Regions from separate parts of the Homo sapiens genome. Here all the other regions are linked to region 1. Evidence: promoter capture Hi-C in 16 types of primary human blood cells and fetal thymus (Javierre and others, 2016). All regions are on one chromosome and are shown on one strand. The core of a region is centred on a gene start or on the middle of the fragment in contact, and the rest is flanking DNA. Distances in the headings are between cores, read along the strand shown.

What was found. The method cuts DNA at HindIII sites, captures the fragments that hold promoters and counts their contacts. A CHiCAGO score of 5 or more calls a contact.
Region 2: a fragment that was not itself captured here is called in contact with the fragment with the promoter of GTF2A1 in region 1 in 1 of 17 cell types (total B cells); the score reaches 7.5 in total B cells.
Region 3: a contact is called between a fragment that was not itself captured here and the fragment with the promoter of GTF2A1 in region 1, in 4 of 17 cell types (activated CD4 T cells, total CD4 T cells, non-activated CD4 T cells and 1 more). The highest score is 13.9, in activated CD4 T cells.
Region 4: a contact is called between a fragment that was not itself captured here and the fragment with the promoter of GTF2A1 in region 1, in 6 of 17 cell types (total B cells, activated CD4 T cells, naive B cells and 3 more). The highest score is 11.1, in total B cells.

What each region holds. Positions count from the first base shown.
Region 1 is chr14:81,219,492-81,222,429 of GRCh38, forward strand. It overlaps GTF2A1 (general transcription factor IIA subunit 1), which reads right to left and starts at 1,468. Exons shown (of 9, transcript NM_015859.4): 1 at 998-1,468. The coding sequence starts at 1,027. GTF2A1-AS1 (GTF2A1 antisense RNA 1) reads left to right here and starts at 1,727. Exons shown (of 2, transcript NR_135252.1): 1 at 1,727-2,034; 2 at 2,148-2,938. RefSeq lists enhancers at 1-190, 63-132, 173-262 and silencers at 603-722, 1,253-1,302, 1,333-1,632. The HindIII fragment of the contact is 3,079 bases long and covers 1-2,461 here.
Region 2 is chr14:88,566,331-88,569,268 of GRCh38, forward strand. It overlaps ZC3H14 (zinc finger CCCH-type containing 14), which reads left to right. Exons shown (of 17, transcript NM_024824.5): 3 at 1,709-1,823. Among named protein-coding and RNA genes, the nearest start is that of ZC3H14, 4.8 kb to the left of the region's middle. The HindIII fragment of the contact is 216 bases long and covers 1,400-1,615 here.
Region 3 is chr14:88,014,906-88,017,843 of GRCh38, forward strand. No RefSeq gene overlaps it. Among named protein-coding and RNA genes, the nearest start is that of HISLA, 8.2 kb to the right of the region's middle. The HindIII fragment of the contact is 2,994 bases long and covers 1-2,938 here.
Region 4 is chr14:87,989,510-87,992,447 of GRCh38, forward strand. The region is part of intron 1 of GALC (galactosylceramidase); the gene reads right to left. Among named protein-coding and RNA genes, the nearest start is that of GALC, 2.2 kb to the right of the region's middle. The HindIII fragment of the contact is 2,330 bases long and covers 324-2,653 here.

The sequences.
Region 1 (2,938 bases), core at 218-2,717:
GAGGAGGACCACAAGGCTCAGGGACTGAAAAGCAGGGTAAGCGGCCGCAGCCATGATGGTTAGACCCGAGTCGCCAACGGTACGGTGTCGGGCGGCCGCGGGCTGGTCTGCGGCATTTGGGACCGGGCAAAAAACGTGTTTTATTGTCATCATAAAAATAAGAGTTGGGTGGACTAGTGATCACACTGCGTTGGTGACTGAAAAGGTTATTTATGTGACTGCTTTTTGCAAACCTACGTGATCGCAAGTAACAAAAAGGGACCAACGGGAAGAAGTAGGTAAATTTCAAGGCGAAAGCGGGGACACTTGGACCACTGCAGGCTTTTTTTGTTTGTTTTGGTGCTTCTGCTAGGCGAAGATACGATGGGGGTCTTCCCCTTCGCCATTTTACCCATTCGGAAGGAACTGAGATAAGTGCTTTTCAACCAACCTTCGTCCTTTTTTTAAACATAAAATGGCCTCAGAGAAGGTTCCCAAAGCACAGCCGCCAAAAACAACCTAAGAAACCCCCAAAGTAACCATTAATCTTCCACTGCATTAAAGTGGATCACGATGGGTCTCGGGGGTTCGCCCGATTCCCCACACACAGTTTTTGTTCTGTAGCCACTCGGGGAGCCCTCGTCAAGCCAGCGCGGACGGGCCCCTCGGGGGGAAGCGGCGGCTCCCCTCCCGCCCTCCCTCCCGGCGGCCGGGTTCTGGGGCCGGGGCTGCGCGCCCGACCGGGCCCAACCGCCTCCGCGGCCCGGCCCGGCCCGCGGCGGCCCCAGGCCCCACCGGCGCCCCCGCCCTCCCCGCGCCGCGAGCCCTCGGCGCCCCCCCGCGCCCGCCGCCCGGCGCTCCGGCCCGATCCGCCCGAGGCGGGAAGCGGCGGCGGCGGCGGCCGCGCGGGCGGCTGAAGAGTCGAGGCCGGGAGTCGCCGCCGTCCCCGCCCCCGCCCGGTCCGGCCGTTGCTGCAGCCTGAACGAAGCCCCCGCCGGCCACCGAACCACGTCCTTACCACGGTGTTTGTATTTGCCGAGTTCGCCATTTCCACACACAACACAAACAAGAGGGGGCAACCCCAAGAAAACAAGATAAAAACAAAACCAAAAAAAAAAAAACTATAACACCCGGAGGGTGACCCAAATCACCGCAAGATTGGGGAAAAAATTTTAAACAAAATCAATCCTGAAGGAGTAGGGGAGAGCGGAGAGAGGAGGAGGAGGGGGGCACTCCTCCCGCAGCTGAAAACCTCGAGAATCGCCTTAAAAAAAAAAAAAAAGCCACGACCCTTCAGGGGTCCGGGGGGCGTTGCCCGCTCCCCACCCCGCGCCAAGGAGGGAAACCACCACCGGTCACCGCTCCCTGCGCCGCCGCTGCCGCCACCGGCTGCAGCTCCAGCCGTCCGGTCCGCCCGCTTCTCTCCTTTATATAGCGAGCCAACAAGCTGCGCGAGCCACCACCGCCGCCGCCGCCGCCGCCGAGAGACAGGGTGAAGGGGGAGGGAGGGGCGGAAAGGGCGGGGGCAGAGGTGGGCGGGGCTGAGCGCGAGACACCGCGAGAGCCGCGTGCGCAGGCGCGCCGGGGCGGAGGCCGCCGGCGAGCCGCGTTGTCACGCGCCGTGGCGGGTACTGGACTGGCGGAGCCCGGGGAGTGAAGTAGTGAAATCGGACCTACGCCTCTCCAACGCTCGCGTGATCACGTGGTTGGCACCCAGGCGGAAGTCTGCGGCAGTTCTTTGCGGTGAAGAACTTGCAAAGCGTTGCTGGAAAAGACGGGAGTTCTACTGACACTCCAGTCCAAAGCTAGGTGGGACCGCCTCCTGTCGCACGTTTCCGCCTGGTCCCGCGCTTTAGGAGCTAGGAAATGTGACAGAGGCGGTGCCTACTGCCTCGCTAGGAATGGCCGCGGAGGAGGACTGGTCACGTGGCGTGGCTTCCGGCCTCTGGCGCGTTCCTATTCGGGAAGGTTTTAAATGCGGAGTCATCTCTTGATTTGTCAGCGAGGCTTTGACTGTGAGCTTCGCGGCGTTCGCGCCTCACCGCCTCACCGAGGGTGGGTCTTTCGCGCGCAGAATTGTGTAGGATTTTCCAAAGGGAGTAAAAGCCGATCGGGGCCTACTTTTAACATTCCACAATTAGTAACGTCTGATTCGTTTGTTTCCACAGTGGGTACGCTGCGAAGACTAGGCTTATGTTACCCAGAGGTTAGTCCTCTACTAGGCCACGTACTTTAAATAATTTATCACGCTAGTGGAAATGCGGGGTGGAAGAAAACCCCACCAGCCTTTGGATTGTAACAGCACAGTAACTTTCCCTGGTTTTTAAAAATATTGCCAAAATACTGCGACTCCATGTGGCCAACGTATAGTGACTGATCACTTTGAAATGCATGCCCTTGACCCACCAACTCGCATGGCCTCTCGCTATAAGAGAGCAAGCCGGCTGTGTTCCATGTTCAATTCAATAAGTGCAATTCAATAAGCTTTTGACTTGTTCTGCCCAAGCAAATCCTGCCTTTATATCGACCTTGCAAGCAGAACAGAGAATGCTGTTTGGAAGGCAGAATTCATAGTACCTAGTTTTCTTGTCCCTGGGAATTTTGAGGGACTTGAAATGTCGCGTGGATGAGTGAGGGAGTTTGTCTTCCAGAGACAAAGCAAAACGAAACGTCAAAGTTCTGTGCTGGTGAAACCAGATTTGAAGAATATCAAAGGCGTCTTACCAAAGAGGAAAAAAAATGCATCTTGCCAAGACTTGAAGAAAGGGATTAGAGAAACCAGAGGCCTTGAATACTCAGAAAATGGGAGATTGTGAATGGGTGTAGAGGATATCTATGAACCTTGACATTTCTTTTCACGCCAAGTCCATTCCCCTGTTAACAGTTGCTTCCCAGTTTCCTGCACAGCTGCATGGTCTGGGACACTTAAAGAAAAAAATCACAGGAAATCAGTGTTCTT
Region 2 (2,938 bases), core at 258-2,757, 7.3 Mb after region 1:
ACCTGCATAAACCAAAGAAGGGGCCCAAGACCAAACAGTTTGAGAATTGGTAATTTATGGAGTACTTACCACCATTTGCTGGGCACTTTCATAAACGATTTGTTGTCAGGATTGTTGGAAGACTAACAGATGAGAGAATTGAGGCTCAGAGAAAATAAAGCTGAACCAAGATTTATTTATTCTTTTATTCTTTCAACACTTGAACTGCATTTTTTATAGTTTTCTTTGAAACAAAAAAAGTACTTCTGAAATGAACCTTTCTGCCTGCATAGAAATATTACAAGTATTTAAGGTATTAAAGAAATTTGTCACAGCATGGTGGTTCACGCCTGTAATCACAGCACTTTGGGAGGCCGAGGTGGGTGGATCACTTGAGGTCAGGAGTTCGAGACCAGCCTAGTCAACATGCTGAAACCTGGTGTCTACTAAAAATACAAACATTAGCTGGGTGTGGTGGCAGGTGCCTGTAATCCCAGCTACTCGGGAGGCTGAGGCAGGAGAATCGCTTGAACCCAGGAAGCAGAGCTTGCAGTGAGCCGAGATTGTGCCACTACACTCCAACCTGGGAGACAGAGCAAGACTCTGTCGTAAAAGAAAAAAAAAAAAAAGAGAACTGGAATGGAGTTTTGAGGGTCAGAGATTAGAGTTCCTGATAACAGCTTTTGCTTCCTTATCTTCTTAGTGAGGTTTTTGTTTTTTTGTTCTTTTAAATCCTAGACCTCACTCTCATAATCACTGTAGGATTACCACTAGGAGGGTGTTTTTTGGCTTCTTTTATTTATTTTATTTATTTATTTTTTTTTGAGACAGAGTCTTGCTCTGTTGCCCAGGCTGGAGTGCAGTGGCAGGATCTGAGCGCACTGCAAGCTCCGCCTCCTGGGTTCACACCATTCTCCTGCCTCGGCCTCCCGAGTAGCTGAGACTATAGGCGCTCACCACCACACCCGGCTAATTTTTTGTATTTTTAGTAGAGACAGGGTTTCACTGTGTTAGCCAGGATGGTCTCAATCTCCTAACCTTGTGATCTGCCCACCTTGGCCTCCCAAAGTGCTGGGATTACAGGCATGAGCCACCGCGCCTGGCCTTTTTTCTTTTTTTTTTTTTTTTATCCTAGACCTCACCCTTATAATCATTGTAGGATTACCACTGTGAGGGTAAAACCGTGCATTGAGTTGACATTATTTAATGTTAAAATTGATTTTTTTAAATGATGTGGAGCTTTTGGGTCTATTTGTTTATTCGATGTTGCTACAAGTTTGTTACTGTGAGTAATTGAAACCTGCCTTTAGCAAGGGTAAAGATGTTCACTTGAGAAATGAGTGTTATTTTGAAACTTTGCAAATTAAAACTAAACAAAACTCAATTCTTTTTCTTGGGGAATGTTCAAATATTTCCCATAAGCTTCTTTGAAATTAATAAGCATTATTAAAAAGATTCAAGGAAGTGAATGCATGCTCAAGTTTGACCCTATAATTCAGAATGTTTAGTTTTGTAAGTATCAATTATTCTTAATTTCCATTCTTCTAGTATTTGAAATACCTGTGGAATGAAGAGAAAAAAATTAAAGCTAAGCCATCTTGTCCAATGTAATTCCAGTAGAGCTCTGCGACTCTAAAGCTTAGAGCTACATCTATATTTTCAAGCACATCAACTTTAAGAAGAAAGTTTTGAGGAAACAAAGTTTTGATCTACCTTTCCTTTTAAATAGATGAAGAACTTCCTGATTACATTATGGTGATGGTGGCCAACAAGAAAAGTCAGGACCAAATGACAGAGGATCTGTCCCTGTTTCTAGGGAACAACACAATTCGATTCACCGTATGGTATGTTTCTGAATTTTTGTGCCTCAGACCAAAGTTTGGCACAAGCCTGAGTTGATATTCTGTCCAAAGAGAGGTTCTTGACACTTGAGTTAGGTTTACTTTGGAGAGGCAGTTTGTGAGTGATGAGAGCACAGCCTCTGTATTAGTCCATTTTCACAGTGCTATGAAGAAATACCCGAGACTGGGTAATTTCTAAAAGAAAGAGGTTTAATTGACTCAGAGTTCCACATGGCTGGGGAGGCCCCAGGAAGGGGAAGCAAGCACCTTCTTCACAAGTCGACAGGAAAGAGAAGAGTGAAGGAGGAACTTCCAGAGACTTATATAAAATCATCAGATCTTGTGAGAACTCACTGTCTCTTGAGAACTCGGGAACTCACTGTCTCTTGAGAACTCACTATCATGAGAACATCATGGGGGAAACCACCCCCATGACCCAGTCACCTCCCTCCCTTGACAGGTGGGGATTACAATTCAATATAAGATTTGGGTGGGGACACAGAGCCAAACCTTATCAGCCTCTGAAGCCAGACAGCCAAAGTTGAATCCTGGCTGTGTCTTGCCTTGGTTTCTCTAGCTATAAAATGGAAATAGTACAGCCACTTGCTTTATAAAATTATTATTGAGGATCAAATGGGCTAATATGTGTAAAGTACTTATAGGTGTCCCTAGCATTTTCCTAAGGAATTCTTAGTATATGTCGGCTATACTTAATATGTTTCTTTTGTAAACTTCTATATCTTTTTTTTTGAGACAGGGTCTTGCTCTGTCACCAGGCTGGAGCACAGTGGTACAATCATGGCTCGCTGCAGCCTCGATCTCCTGGTTTCAAGTGATCATCCCATTGCAGTCCCCTCCTTCCTGAACTCCCATGCCTGACTAATTTTTAAATTTTTTGTTCAGACAGGGTCTTAGTATGTTGCCCTGGATGCTCTTGAACTCCTGGGCTCAAGCAGTCCTCCTGCCTTGGCCTTCAGAAGTCTTGGGGTTATAGGTATGAGCCACTGCACCTGGCCAGCTTCTGTATCTTATAGTTCCTTTTCCCCCACCAAAACCAGTTACAGATGTTTTTTTGAACTGGGTTGGCTTCTTACATTGCCTTTTACAATGAGTTACCT
Region 3 (2,938 bases), core at 198-2,697, 6.8 Mb after region 1:
TTAGTTCTCAGCATTTCATTGAAAGCTGTTAGATATTTGCTTGAGCTTGTAAGCATCCTTCTAAAAGAATTATTTTCAGAATTACTCTAAAATTTCTGGTATTGCCTCCAAGACTGTTGACACTAACAAAAAATTTAACTTGGAAACCTCGATTGAAAATTTAGAAACAATTCTTGTTCTGATCTCCAGAAAGGACAATTTTAAGGGTATTCTCACTGGTAATCACAATTGTTTGTTGGATAAATAAATAATAAGTTAATTAATCAAACAAACTAAAAATGCTGCAGTTTTACAGTTTGTCCTAACCTCAGGATTCAGTTCCTAAAACCTTTAGGGCTATTTGTATTCCTGGTGGAAAATTTTAAGATTATATGGGAAAGTAAGGTTAAAGAGAAAGAGTCTCCCTTTAGGAAAGCTGTTATTAATAATTTTTACATTTGCTGAACTAAAATAGTAGGAACAAACATTAGCAAATGACATTTTATTCATCTTAAATTAGTAGTAACAAGAATTGTCATGTTAATTTCCAGCTATCATTCCTTGCTCATGAGAAATGTTTTTAGGATATCCCTTCCTTAAATTTTTAGTAAGCTGTTCATCAGTTGACTTACTTTTGTTGCAGACTACACAGTGGCATGAATCTCTGTTCATGGAATCAGTGCTGCGAGAAAACATTGTTACATTTTCTTTATCAGCTTAATTGTAAATCCCAGCCCACATACCACCAAGCTATAGGAAATTCCATCTCAGGCATTATGGGATTGTCTTCCCCTTTTTGGTTTACACCAGAATCGGGAGGTTTACATGATGCTAAGAAAATGAAAGGGGTCTTTGATTTATAGTCACCAGTGATGGTAATATTGCCTAACCTTTTAGTGGTTGCTTGATTCCTTTACGGCCTCCCTGAATCTCTTGGGGCACAGGGCAGGACCTGATAGGAGCCAGTTAATGGCCCAGATTCTTGTGCATCAGGTAGAGTTTCCTTCAAAATGTCGTATATCCTCATGCGAACTAAAAATAAAATCCTAAAATTCTAAGCCCCCCAACTGACTGAAAAGACCCCTCTTGGCTGGGGGACCCCAGAGAAACCTTAAAAACTGAGTTCCTAGCCATGACAGAATGGGAGCTTGTACACACCTCATTGCACCCACTCTGTTTTACAACTTAGACACAACAACTGACCAGTGTTAATGTTAAAATGGAGATCATAAGACTGACAAAATGGACTCTTTATGGCTATAAGATACTAAATTGTAAACAAGACCTAAGGTCACGCCAAGCAAGAGTTAAGTCACATACCCCCGTACTTAAAGAATAAACTATGTTCCACCTGCCACAAGATTTTTCTTTTTCTCTAGCAGCTAAACAAGCACTGGCCTCGAGATAAGAAATATTGAAACAATTACAGCTCACCAATTGCCAGATGCAGCCTGATTTCACCCCTCTGTTCCACAAGCCATCACTACAGCTCTGATGTGACAAGAGGTTGATTTTGGTAACTTTCTCTTGATGAAAGACCACCAACCATGGACTGGTTCTGGCTGGTTTACAGAGGCTGCGCACTTGAATGCCTCTGTGTCTCTGCTTCACCTTTTGACATACAAGGCCTAATTGTAATGCATTTATATGTTAAGTCTCCACACAAAAGTGAACATGCAACATGCATGTTTATTCAGTGCACACGCGTTAGGACACCCTTCATGAATATTTATAGCTACTCTTATAACCTGCTAAATATTTATACTTGGCTAACCTGTTCAGCATAAATCCCTGTTCCATCCTCCCCTCCCTCAATGTACCTGCCTTCTGGCTTCTACCAGAGGCTACGTTTCCCAGCCTGTCAAAATGACCACTCTGCAGGCTGTAACCCTTTATGAGAAATCAACTCTCCATTCTAAATGTAACATCTCATAATGTTTCAGCTGACACTTCAGAGCTGCCTCTTTTTAGGAATGCCTGACATCCAGACCTACATGGTTCTTGGCTTTAGCAATGGAGCACGTAGTACCTAAATAAGTCAATCAAAGCCACAGTGATTGGTTCAGTGGTGGGCATGTGACCGAACTTGCTTAGATTCTGGGACAAAGACTCTTTCTTTTAATCTGGATGTGGTGGTATGTGAATGAGATGCCTGGAATCCTTGTGGCCATTTTGTTAACATGAAATAGCCAATGCATGGGAAAAAGGAGAGCTCAGGGAATCACACAACACTGGAGCTGTGTCCTAAAGATACAGAGAGTCTTGAATATTGCAGGTACATGAACCAAATACACTTCCTTATTATTTTAATGTGAATCTGGTATTTTTGTTCCTTGAATCCTGAAGGATCCTAATGGAATTTGGAACATGGAAGTGAGGGTGATGTTACAGACTCCAGACTGTTGAATAGGCAGAGCTGAAGAGCTGCAGTGGAGAAGGCAATGCCAAGATAGAGCTAGCTTGTGATGTTAGTAACCCATGTTAAGTGGTAGCAAAATCTCTGGTTAAACTATTTCCTGCTATATCCCGAGACTCAGATAATGTCCACCAAGGGTCTGGAATCAAGACTTTGGAAGGAAAAATTCAAAATGTTGGTGGTTTTTGGCTTCCTCTTATAGCTTTCAATAAACTGCCACAAAAGACAGATAAAATAATACAATTTTTTGAGAGCTTTTCTGTTAAATTTTTCAAATCCAGAAAACACTGCTGCCCTGTGGGGCCTACACACAGAAACAGTGTGTTTTATGCTTCAGGAAAAGGGTAAACTTTAGCTAGAAAAAGCAAGTCAGCATTGTTTGTGAGTCACTAGTGAGTGGAGTCTCAAAAGCCAGACACTATGGGGAAATAAAAGAACTTTTTAAACCTCTTAGGCTCCCATCTCATATCAAGAAGTAGGCCTGGCTGACTTAAAATTGGAGTTTTCTCTATGCCAGGGGGTAGTGAGAACCAATCATGATGT
Region 4 (2,938 bases), core at 239-2,738, 6.8 Mb after region 1:
GCTCCTTTTCCTGAACTTGCTGTCTCAGTAACCAACACTTGCCGAAACCATAAACTTGGGCCACCTTTTGTCCAAACTTCCCATGTACCCTCAGTCACCAAGATATCCTCAATAGCTCTCAAATCCCTCCTCTACTCTTCAACCCCACTGACTTACCCAGGCCCTCCTCACTTATGAGAACAGTATAAGTGGTCTCAGGACATCCCTTCTGCCTCTCCCTGTATTCTATCTTCCATGCTACTTACGAGAGTAACCTTCCCAAAATACAAATGTAATCACGAAACTCTTCCATGTAAACATGCTAAGACCGTCCCTTTCCCAAAAGCTTTCAGGATAAAGTTCAAATCGCTCAATTTTGCACCCAAATCCCTTAATTATTTGGCTCCTAACCCTGATACTTTATCCCTTATCACTCTCACACCTTCTACCTAGATGTATCAAACAACGTTTTCTATTCTTATGCCTGGAATGCACCCCACATCCTCTCTTGGACAACTCCAATTCACCTTTCAGCTCAAATTCCACCTCTGGAATTTGAAGGAAGGATGCCTTCTGGCCCTGCTCACTGATTTGATGTAAGCGCCTCTCCTTTGGCACCAGGTCCATATCTTTATTACAACACTTTGAACCCCGGCACTCCTTTATTTTTCTGACTCACCTCTTAGTTCCTTAAGGACATGGACTGTATCTTATTCAAGTTTGTATCCTCATTCTTTGTTATTCAATAAACACTTATTAAATATTTTATGGGTCTTTTGTTGCACTGGTACTGGCAACATAAATAGGAGTCTTTGAGTCAAATGGAGTTTGTATCCTGATTTCATCATTAATAAGCTATGTAATCATAGGCAAATTATTGTAAAGTGGGCTATCTTACTCATTCAACTGCTGTAAGACTAAAATTAGATGTATGTAAAGGACTTGGCACATTACCTGGCACATAGTAAGTTCTCAATAAAGGCAAGTGTTATATACACAAATTTTTTAAAATACATATTTCTCAAAGAGCTTACAACCTAGCAGAGGCTCCAATATTAAAATAGGCACTCTTTAAATGAACACTGTATAGGCACACTAATATATCCTTGACCCTAGGTAAACAATGCTTCCTGTCCTACGCTACGCCATTAATACTGTGCGTTTTGCTGTCTAGGGTTTCTTTTGCCCTCTATGCACTCCCACATTTAACAGAGAAAGTATCGGCTTTAGGCAAACACACCAATCATGTTATTGCAAACCTATAGCCACACCTAACACAACAGCATAAGTCAAAGGCAATATAACCAAATGTTAAAATGCACCATCTAGCAATAGCAAATCACGGGATTACTAACCACACTGCCTGAATGAGGCCTGGAACTGTTTACAGGCCCAGGAAAAAGCCTTGGGGACATTTCATCATTCAGTGGCCTTGAAATAACTTCCTCCTCCCTAATCCCTGAAAATGGTTATTAACCAAAATTAGTAATGTGCAAGACATCATCCTAAGTACTTTAGGTCTATCCTCACGGCGCTCCTACCATGCAGGTATAACTGTATCCCAAAAAAAGAAAGTGAGGCAGAGAGGAGTTATAATAGATAACCCACCAAGGCCACACAGTGAAGTGGCAGAACCCAGAAGACACTCTTGGCAATCTTCTCTTTAGTCTACATTCTTTTTGTTTTGTTTCGCTTTGGTTTGGTTTTTGGGTTTTTTTGTTTGTTTGTGTTTTGAACGGAGTCTCACTCTGTCGCCCAGGCTGGAGTGCAGTGGTGTGATCCCGGCTCACTGCAACCTCCGCCTCCCGGGTTCAAGCGATTCTCCTGCCTCAGCCTCCCGAGTAGCTGGGACTACAGGCGCGTGCTACCAAGACTGGCTAATTTTTTGTATTTTTAGTAGAGACGGGGTTTCACCGTGTTAGCCAGGATAGTCTTGATCTCCTGACCTCGTGATCCGCCCGCCTCGGAAGCCCGAAGTGCTGGGATTACAGGCGTGAGCCACCGTGCCCGGCCCTACATTCTTAACTACTTACTGTACCATACCGCTTTCCCTCTCTGACATGAAGATTAAATGACAGCACTCTAAACACTTACTGGCACAACCTGGGCTAGGAACCAAGGACTCCACAAAGAAGTTTAAAGTGGTATGCAAATATAATGTTGCAAGAATTTTCATTATTTAGTGAGTTCCTATGAGGAGTAATGAACTATATAGGGATACTAATAATTGTATATTCTATCAGATTAGGTAGGAGTTTCCTACTTTGAATTACGAAATGATTCTTCTCATCTTAGTAATTTTAAACTGGGCTTAATAAACCTAATGGAAACAAAGACTTCCATTTTTCGGTAAGCTCTTACCCTAGATATAGTATCACAAGTAAAGCTATAAAAAAGATGGGGCCTCACTCCATGAAATATTGGCTGTTTCAGGTTTAGCCCAAAAACATAAAAAGGAGAATAGTAGTAGCAAAGAATAAATGCATTAACTCATCGGCCCACAGGTTTCCCCTGAAATACACATCAGCACGGCTGGAGAGATTGCAAATTAGGGAATGAAAACATAAAAATCAAAAAGGATCAGCTAACTCCAGGGGGAAAAAAATTTCCCCTAGCAGAAGGTTATATCTTGTGGTCACACTACAGACCAGGTCATCCTTGCAGCAGGCATTCAAGCTTGTTCTGAGTTGAATGTAAGGATGCAAGCTCCATCCAACTCAACCCCAAAAATCCGAGTTCAACCTTAACATTTTCAAGAAACATTAGCCCTAGATGTAATTTCGGATACAAAACCAAAAAACAAAAACCTTCTCACCCAAAGGTCGGCCACCATGAAGCCCATGGGCCCAGAGGGAGTACCCGGTAGTTTCAGGCCGCTCGCTTATCTTCCTTTTAAAGAGACCTTGAGGCACCAGTCCTGCCTCCAAACGAAATCCTATTCGGCGCTACCCTCTCTGGA